Regions from separate parts of the Homo sapiens genome. Here all the other regions are linked to region 3. The links are contacts of gene promoters, found by promoter capture Hi-C in blood cells and fetal thymus (Javierre and others, 2016). All regions are on one chromosome and are shown on one strand. Each heading gives the region's core, a stretch centred on a gene start or on the middle of the fragment in contact. The rest is flanking DNA. Distances are from core to core; before and after follow the strand shown.

Region 1 (3,320 bases), core at 356-2,855, 550 kb before region 3:
CAGATGGTCATTCTGGGCTTTATTTTTTGACAGGGGGAATATCCTAAGGCCTGCCATTTATTGGGGAATAGATTTTTCTTCTCGTCAGCTGGGTTCAGTGCTCCCAACACTTTGGGAGGCTAAGGTGGCAGGATCACTTGAGCCCAGGAGTCTGAGGCTGCAGTGAGCCATGATTGCACCACTGCACTCCAGCTTGGGTGACAGAGTGAGACCCTGTCTCAGAAAAATAAAAGAAGGTGTTATTTGTAATCCTTTACATGTAAGCTGTCAAGCTTCTCAGTATTAAGGAATAATTCACACACCAAATATAAAGCAATCAATACTTTCCTTTACATACTAGGCATCTAGAAAAGGGTCCTAGGCTGGACATGGTGGCTTATGCCTGTAATCCCACCAATTTGGGAGGCTGAGGCAGGAGGATTGCTTGAGCCTGGGAACTTGAAACCAGCCTGGGCAACACAGTGAGACCCCATCTCTACAGATGTCTTTTAAAAAAGAAAAACTTCTTTTTCTTCTCTTTTTGCTGAGTAAAAAGACACATCTACCCCCTTATATATACTCACCCACATATATAGGTACACATACCTACATATACTCACCACTACACCTTACACATAACCCACATGACATATACAGGTACACACACCTACATACACTCACCTCTCTACCCTACACATATACCTACCTACATACACACACACACAGAACCTTAAAGAACAGTCATTTTGTTACTCCACATTTCTAGTGATGAAATTTGAATTCAGATCCACATGGCTCTGTCCATGTGGTTTAAGCCCAAAAGCTATATAAGAATACACTAAAATGTCCCCATTCACACTGTCCCCAGTCATCTTAAAGAACAGTTAGTCATTTTGTTATCCTAGATTTCTAGTGATGAAATTTGAATTCTACAGAGTTGAAGGGTGGGGTGATGGGGAGAAGTTATGAAGAGCTTAGGTCAGGTCCCCTTCATGGACATTTAGGGCCCTGCCCTTGACAGGACATGACAGCCCCTTCCTCCTCCCAGGTGATTGATTGATTGATTGAAATAGCATCTCACTCTGTTGCCCAGGCTGGAGACAGCGGTGCGATCATGGCTCACTGCAGCCTCAGACTCCTGGGCTTAAATGATCCTCCTTACTCAGGAGTGGCTGGGACTACAGGCATGTGCCACCATGCCTGGCTAATTTTTATTTTTATTTTTTTGTAGAGAGAGTGTCTCATTATATTGCCCAGGCTGGTAGGTTGTGATGGAGATGTCTAACACACAGACACACGTACACACATGCTTACCTGCATCCACTTACGCACACACACCTACATGCACAAACCTCACAGACATTTTGCTTTGCCAGGGTTGATCTGCCAGAAATCTTCATGGAGCTTATATCAAGGGATTCATACCCACCTGCTGGCATAACTGAAAAATGTCTAAATATATATATGAATTTTTTTTTTTTTTGAGACGGAGTTTCACTCAGTTGCTTAGGCTGGAGTGCAGTGGCATGATCCCGGCTCACTGCAACCTCCACCTCCCAGGCTCAAGCGATTCTCCTGCCTCAGCTTCCCGAGTAGCTGGGATTAAGGCACGAACCACCATGCCCAGCTAATTTTTCTATTTTAAATAGAGTTGGGGTTTTGCTATATTGGCCAGACTGGTCTCAAACTCCTGACCTCAGGTGATCCACCCGCCTCGGACTCCCAAGGTGTTGGGATTACAGGCGTAGCCACTATGCCCAGCCTATATATGAAAAATTGTCTGAATAGATGATCTGTTCATGTAGTTTAAGCCCAAAAGCTGTCCACGTGGATACAATACACTGAAATGTTCCCTCTCACAGTGTCCCCAGTCACTGTTGCCTCTCCCACAGCCCTAGGGGTATCCATTCCTAGATGTAAGTCAATATAAAAACACTCTTCTCCCTCCTTTTTATACAAAAGCACCAAAGTATTCATCTTGTCCTGATTTTGCTTGTTTTAGTTAACAATATGTCCTGTAGGCTGGGCGCGGTGGCTCACACCTGTAGTCCCAGCACCTTGAGAGGCCAAGGCGGGTGGATCACCTGAGGTCAGGAGTTCAAGACAAGCCTGGCCAACATGGTGAAACCCTGTCTCTACTAAAAGTACAAAAAATAAGCCGGGTGTGGTGATGCATACCTGTAATCCCAGCTACTCGGGAGGCTGAGGCAGGAGAATTGCTTGAACCCAGGAGGTGGAGGTTGCAGCGAGCCGAGATCGCGCCATTGAACTCCAGCCTGGGCAACAAGAGTGAAACTCTGTCTCAAAAACAAACAGAAAAACAAATAAAAAATCAAAAAAACCCACAATATGTCTTGGACATCTTTCTGTAATGGTACATAAGCAGACAATGTAAATTTGGACCTTACTTTGGTCAAAGCATGTCTGTCTCCTCCCTGGCCCAGGGTCACTTTATGGAAGCCACCTTCTATTACCTGTTACCTTCCATGACTCATAGTCTGCTGTCTGCTTCTGACTCCTCAGTTGTTGGATTTCCCCATCCACTGCAGTGGGATGGAGACAAGCAGCCCCATCACATAAGTATCGGGGAAGAAAGTGATAAATAGGTTCTCAGTGTATAGGCAGAGGAATTTTAAAGGACTCCATGGTGGGGTGAAAGGTCTGGAAATGTTTACTTGGTGACTGCACTTCAGGGAGCTTCATGGGTGGGTAAGAGGGAGGGAGAGAATATTCACTTAGTGCCAATTGCCTGGCACTATGCCATGTGAATGTGATACTGATTTGACAGTGATGCCAACTCAGGCTTTATTTATTCCTGTGGGCAAGTGAAACCTCAGAGAAGTTAAGTAACTTGCCCAGGGTTGCTCAGAGGTGCCGAGACATGAGCTGAAGTCTGTCTGACTGCGTGGTGTAGGCTCGTTCTATTGTATGATGAAAAGAAGAGGCTGGTGCCACCAAAAAAGCTTAAGGCCATTGCTGGAGAGAGTGGGTGTGGTACGACCACACTGGGGGACTGTGGCGGAGTCAGCTAAAACTGGCCATGTGCTTGCCAGCGTTCCCACCCCTGGGTATACACCCAAGAGAAAGGCGTGCAGGTGCTCACCAAACATATATACCAATGTGTCCACAGTAACATGGACCCTAACAGCTAAAAAACTGGAAGCTGCCCAGATGTCCATCAACAGTAGAATGAATTCCAGTGCACTCACACAATGGAATACTATATAGCAATAAATAAAAGGAATGGATATTTGCAACAACATGGATTAACCTCAAAAATGTTATGTTGGCAGGGTATGATGGCTCATGTACCCCCAGCACTTTGAGAGGCCAAGGCAGGT
Region 2 (3,017 bases), core at 66-2,565, 510 kb before region 3:
TCTCTTACACCACTCGCTCCTGACCCAGCTGAGCTATTTTACTCTCCTCCCACCCGCAGCACATCACTCTCCCTTTTAAGTGCCTAAAGCACTATAGGTAACGATCAGTTTCCTGTCTATTTCACCTTTAAAGGCTAAGCTCTTCCTACCACTTGGCATCTAGTAGGTACCTGATACATTCTTGGACTCTTTTCTGTGTATCGCACCTTGCAGCTCATCCATCACCAACTCCTGTTGGCCCCTAAGTCCCCTCGACTTTCTTTGTATCACCTTCATGTTACTACCTTGGTCCAGGCTACCATCGTTGTCTACCTGCAGTGCCTTTCTTTCCTTCCTTCCCTCCTTCCTTCCTTCCTTCCCTCTCTCCCTCCCTCCCTCCCTCCTTCCTTCCTTCCTTCCTTCCTTCCTTCCTTCCTTCCTTCCTTCTTCTCTCTCTCTCTTTCTTCTCTTTCTTTCTTTTTTTTTGACATGGGGGTTTCACCATGTTGGCCAGGCTGGTCTTGAACTCCTGACCTCAGGTGATCCGCCTGCCTTGGCCTCCCAAAGTGCTGGGATTACAGGCGTGAGCCACTGCTCCTGGCCCCTGCAGTGCCTTTCTAAGCGGCCTTCCTGCTCCTGCCTTGTGCCCGCCCCCGGCTCCGAAGCTTGCTCTCTGTACACAGCTGGGGATCCTTTTAAAATATAAGCCTGAGCATTTCATTTCTTCACTTAAAATCCATTAGCCACTGAGTGCAACTTCCTGTCTTTTCTCTCTCTTCCTTATCTGTACTTTGACCTCCTGCCAGCTCCTTGGATTCCTCCTTCTCTGCTTAGCTGAGACTCCTACTCACCAGCACCTTAACTGTTCTCTTTTCCACCAACCCCCTCATCCTTCTGGATGTAGGGAGACTCATCCAGCCAGATCCTGACTCTGGAGCAATTTAGTCGCTCCTTGAACACGCTTGGGGTCTTTGACCTCAGCTCTATGTCCCATATTTCCAGTGATCTAGGCTCCTGTCCTCTGCCAGCTCTCTCCCTTTTCCTTTACCGGCTCTTTACTGCATCGCAGGTAGACAATGATGGAAGTGTTGATCAAGGTGGCATTAAGGAGGTAGTGCAAAGTTGGGGGGATTTGGCAGCCTAAAGGAGTTGGTAATGGATGAGGTGCAAGGTGTGATACAAAGAGTCCAAGAATGTATGAGGCACCTACTACGTGCCAAGCACGGTGTGAGGAGTTTAGCCTTAAATGGTGAAATAGAGAGGGAACATATAGTTACCTACAGTGTAACCTTTCCTATACCAAATCTTTACCCCTCTTTCCAAGCCTTGCAGCCTGCCCCTTCTTCTCCAGAGCAGTTGATCTTACCTCCTGTTTCACAGGGAAAGCAGAGGCCACAGAAACTAGGCACTCGCCCAGCCTTCTGCACCTCTCATCTTCTTTGGTAAGGAAGGGATCGCTCCTCCTACCCAAGGTTAGTGTCCCTACTTGTATGGTGGAGCCCTCGATCCTTAAGCCACCCACAAGCCTGCCTTGGTTACAGCTGCTGCCCCTTTGCTGGCTCCCTGGCCACCACCTTCTTCTCTCCACGTCTCCAGCCCTCACCTACAGTCTCCTTGTCCCCACCTGACCTCACTCTGCTCTGCTGCTTTGCCCCACATGTTCCACCCCTCCCAGGCCCTCAACCTGTAGACACTGCCCTCATCCTCCTGGGTGCCACTCATCTCATCTGTGGCTTCCCGGATGACAGTCTCTTGGTTTTTCCTACTCCTTGTCAGTTTCCTTGCTGCTCCTTCCTCACATCCTCACTGCTAAATGTAGGAGCGCCTCATTTAGTCTTGCAGTTTCCTGTCTTTGCATTCTCCTATCAGTGTCATCTAGGCTCATGGTGTTAAATATTGACTTTACAGCTCAGACCTCTCTCCTTAATTCCAGACTCATAGATCCAGCTGCCTCCTAGACATCTCCACTTGGGAGTCTAGTGGATCTCACACTTATCCTGTCCTCATGAAGCTTACATTTCACTGGGGAAGACAGGAAATAAACAGGATAAACAAGGAAAATGTAAAGGTATCAAAGAGTAAAGGTATACTAAGGAGAAAAAAATGAAGCAGGAAGGAAGATGGGGGCGAGTGTGCTTGTGATATGTGGCTAGGGGTGGTGGTATAAATTCTGGATAAGGTGGCCAGGAAAGTCCTGATGAGAATGTGACATTTGAGTAAAGAGCTGAATGAAGTGAGTGAATGAGGTGTGTGGAGATCTGGGGAGGAACATTCCAGCAGAGGAAACGGCAAGTGCAAAGGCCCTGAGGTGGCTCCGGTATGTTTGTAGAACGATGACGAGGTTGGTGTGGACAGAATGCAGTGATTGAGGGCAGAGAGGAAGGAGACGAGGTTGGAACTCAACCACCCACCCTCAATGCGCCCTCCCACCCTGTCTGAGACACCATCATCACTTGCCTTGATGAATCCAGCAGCCCCCTCACTGCTTGTGCCCCTGCCCCCTGAATCTTTTCTCACCCTGGCAGCTAGAAAGACTGAAAAGACTGGTCACGTCACTCCTCTGCTCAGAACCCTCCAACAGCTCCTCTGCCTCCTCCTAGCAAGAGCCTATGACCTACACAGCTCAACATGTCCCCCCAAATCTCTCCTCTCCTCTCCTTCCCTCGCCTACTCTGTTCCAGCCACATTGCCTTCCCTGTTGCTTTTTGGACATGCCAGATGCACACCCACCTTGGCCCTTTGCACTTTTTCCCCAGAATTTTCTTCCTCCAATATCCATGTGGCTCACACCCTCACCTTTGTGATGAGATCACACTGACTTCGTATTCACAATTGCAATATCCCCTAACCCTGTGCTCCCTGTCTGGCTCAGCTTGCTCTGTTATGCCTCATGGTACTTGTCACCTTCTGTCCTATTTGAGTCATGATGCATTTGTCTATCATCTATCTCCCTGCAATGAACATCCCTGGGGTGGGGCCAGGGTCTGTTTTGCTTGGTGCTGCATTCCCATTGCCAAGAAGACCTCACAGGCATATCA
Region 3 (3,035 bases), core at 256-2,755:
CTTGAGGTAGGGAACAGGAAGCAACAGGGTCTCCAGGTTCACTGAGGAGTACTGACCTGCAATGCGATTCCTACATCAGCAAAGGTCTTCCTTCCATCGTTAGAGGACTCCTGGATTTGCTATGCCTATCCTGATGGCTTCCTACATGAGACCATCCATTCACACTTGGCCCTTACCCAGGCCTGAAATTCTCCCCAGTTGCACTCCACCCACTTATGTCTATCACTTAGCTCAAAGCCAGTAAAGCTCATCTCTGAACTAGCAAAGATTCCCTTTATCCCATCAAAATGTCCTTAACATCTATCTTGAGGTCATGCAGCATGATCTTACTTTGCTGGCATTCTTTCCTTCTTCTGTGGATTCCCAAGCAGAGTACAGATGTACAGATTCCTTGGGGGATAAGAGCTGGAATTTCAGCTTCTTTTTTTTTTTTTTTTTTTTGAGACGGAGTCTCGTCTGTTGCCAGGCTGGAGTGCGGTGGTGCAATCTCTGCTCACTGCAACCTCCGACTCCCTGGTTCAAGCTATTCTCCTGCCTCAGCCTCCCAGGCAGCTGAATTACAGGCACACACCACCACGCCCAGCTAATTTTTGTATTTTTAGTAGAGACAGGGTTTCACCATGTTGGCCAGGACGGTCTCGATCTCCTGACCTCATGATTTACCTGCCTTGGCCTCCCAAAGTGCTGGGATTACAGGCATGAGCCACCGCACCCGGCCTCACCTTCTTTTATATCCCACACAGCACCCAGCACAGAGCACAAAGCTAAGCGCATCGATCCAGCGACTGACTGACTGAATAAATGAATACATGCTATCTTGCTTGTAGAAGCCCAGATTCCTCCTTCTTACGACTCCCACACCCACTTAGGAGATTCTATTATGTCTTAAAAGAAGTTACATCTCCATTAGTGTCAAAGCAACATTATATAAGTGGCTCAACATGATCAGGCATGAATTTCTTTGTTTTCCCACTCACCTGAAAGCCCAAAAACAATCCAGGTGGTGGTAAACACTTCTGATCCTTCAAAGAAAACGGAAGAAAGCGATCCCTACCGTCTATTTTGAATCTACCGTTTTTTGTTTTTGAGTGTCTTTTAAATCTATTCAAAATCCTTTAAGGGCATTTCACCATGCATGGGAGAAGGTCATGGATCCTCAACAAATTGCAAGAGGCCTTTCACAGGCTAGACTCTGCCTTGTTCTCCAAGCTCACCTTCCATAATCCTGATGTGCTCCATATTGCCAGACTCTTTCAAGTCCTTCCCCGCCCTGCGGAGAATCCCTACTCACACCTCAGGACCAGCTCAGACATGGTCTCCAGGAGACCTTTTCTAAGATCCTATGTGAGGTAACTAGCCCCCTTGGCACCTTGTGACATAATTATTCACTTCCATGTACATGTCCCGTAGTGAACTATGAGCACCTCCAGACCTTACCCTGCGTTTGGTCGCCTTGCTCTCCTCTCTGCAGCTGGCACCCAATCTTTCCAGGCTGTCTCTAGGGACTCGAGCCCTTGGGATGGGGTCCTCAATGCTTTTCCACCTGCCTGGCTTCTAAATTCCACTAAGATCCTGTCCCATTCTCTTGGAAACACTAGAACTTACTCTGACATGCCCTATGGAAGTTATTTCTCCACTGCTGTTCAAACCCACTCCCAGACCTGGCCTTCCCTGAGGAGAGCGTCTCAGCCAAATCCAACTGCCTCTAGCTCAAGTTTCCTTGCGGGGGGCCCGCTGGCCTCATCCTGTTAGGTCGTCTTAGAGCCACAGGAGAATCAATGTTCCAGTGTCAGCAGGAAGAATCAATGTTCCAGTGTCAGCCAGCAGGGGGCAGTGTGAAAATACACACACCAGGCCCTTTTTTCAAAGGGTCTCGGCTTCCCTGAGGGTGTCTATCTGTGCCTCTATGAAGCATGGCTTGGGTCATTCCTCCAGTCCCATGGCCAGGTGGATCCTTCGTTTACCTTTCATTTCTATTAAATGAGAACATTCTCAATTCACTAACTGGATTGTTGGAAAGGCAGCAAGCTCTGCTAGATAGTTCTAAATATTTGCATCAAATATGGACCAGAAATTGTGAATCTGTCTTTCAACGCCCTCGGATCTGAGTCAGCAAGGCTGCCACGTGCAAAAGTAGGAACGTTAAATACTTGAAGCTGGGAGAGAATAAGTGGGTTTCTAATCCTCTCTGGTGCATTCAGTTCTAGAAAGTGGTTCTTTGTATTCTACTGGAACATTTCTATGTATGGTTTTTTTGTTGTTTGTTTGTTTGTTTTTTGAGACAGAGTCTCCCTCTGTTGCTCAGGCTGGAGCACAGTGGCACAATTTCAGCTCACCACAACCTCTGTCTCCCGGGTTCAAGGAATTCTCCTGCCTGAGCCTCCCGAGTAGCTGAGATTACAGGCACGTGCCACCACGCCCAGCTAATTTTTGTATTTTTGGTAGAGGCAGGGTTTCACTATGTTGGCCAGGCTGGTGTATGTATGTTTTAAACATGCTTTAAAACAAAATTTCTTTTTAGAGATGGGATCTTGCTATGTTGCCCAGGCTGGAGTGCAGTGGCTATTCACAGGTGTGATCATGGCGCACTGAAGCCTAGAACTACTAGGCTCAAGCAATCCTCCCACCCTAGCCTCCCACGTAATTGAGACTACAGGTATACACCACCATGCCCGGCCTTAAACATGCTTTTAAATGTGTCATAAATCACATTTCTCTGATGAATAAAAAGAATTATCTAATGTTGAGAAAGAGTCAGTGTTTAATCATTTACCTCACAGTGCAGATTTCTTAATAAATTCTGTTATTGAATCTACAGAATTTAACATTATGTTATTTTTGGCCCTGAAGGCATAACTTCAAGCCATTCTGGATACTGAATGTGTTGCTGACATACACATTAGCAAATCACTCAGAAGCATATACACTTTATTGCATTATCAGTAACATGAAGAAATATTTCTATATCATGAGAAAGAGCACTTTCTTCTTGATATGTGTGTAATCCCTTGGTCTTGGGAAGCTAAGGCACAGCT

The links. Contacts are between HindIII fragments. The CHiCAGO score rates a contact against its expected background, and 5 or more counts as called.
Region 1: a fragment that was not itself captured here is called in contact with the fragment with the promoter of PRNT in region 3 in 1 of 17 cell types (M0 macrophages); the score reaches 5.3 in M0 macrophages.
Region 2: a fragment that was not itself captured here is called in contact with the fragment with the promoter of PRNT in region 3 in 4 of 17 cell types (M0 macrophages, M1 macrophages, megakaryocytes and 1 more); the score reaches 8.7 in M0 macrophages.

Annotation. Positions count from the first base shown.
Region 1 is chr20:4,188,493-4,191,812 of GRCh38, forward strand. No RefSeq gene overlaps it. Among named protein-coding and RNA genes, the nearest start is that of LINC01433, 2.9 kb to the right of the region's middle. The HindIII fragment of the contact is 2,670 bases long and covers 271-2,940 here.
Region 2 is chr20:4,227,325-4,230,341 of GRCh38, forward strand. All of the region lies in intron 1 of ADRA1D (adrenoceptor alpha 1D), which reads right to left. Among named protein-coding and RNA genes, the nearest start is that of ADRA1D, 20 kb to the right of the region's middle. The HindIII fragment of the contact is 1,346 bases long and covers 643-1,988 here.
Region 3 is chr20:4,739,163-4,742,197 of GRCh38, forward strand. PRNT (prion locus lncRNA, testis expressed) reads right to left here and starts at 1,506. Exons shown (of 2, transcript NR_024269.1): 1 at 1,438-1,506. The HindIII fragment of the contact is 12,166 bases long and covers 1-3,035 here.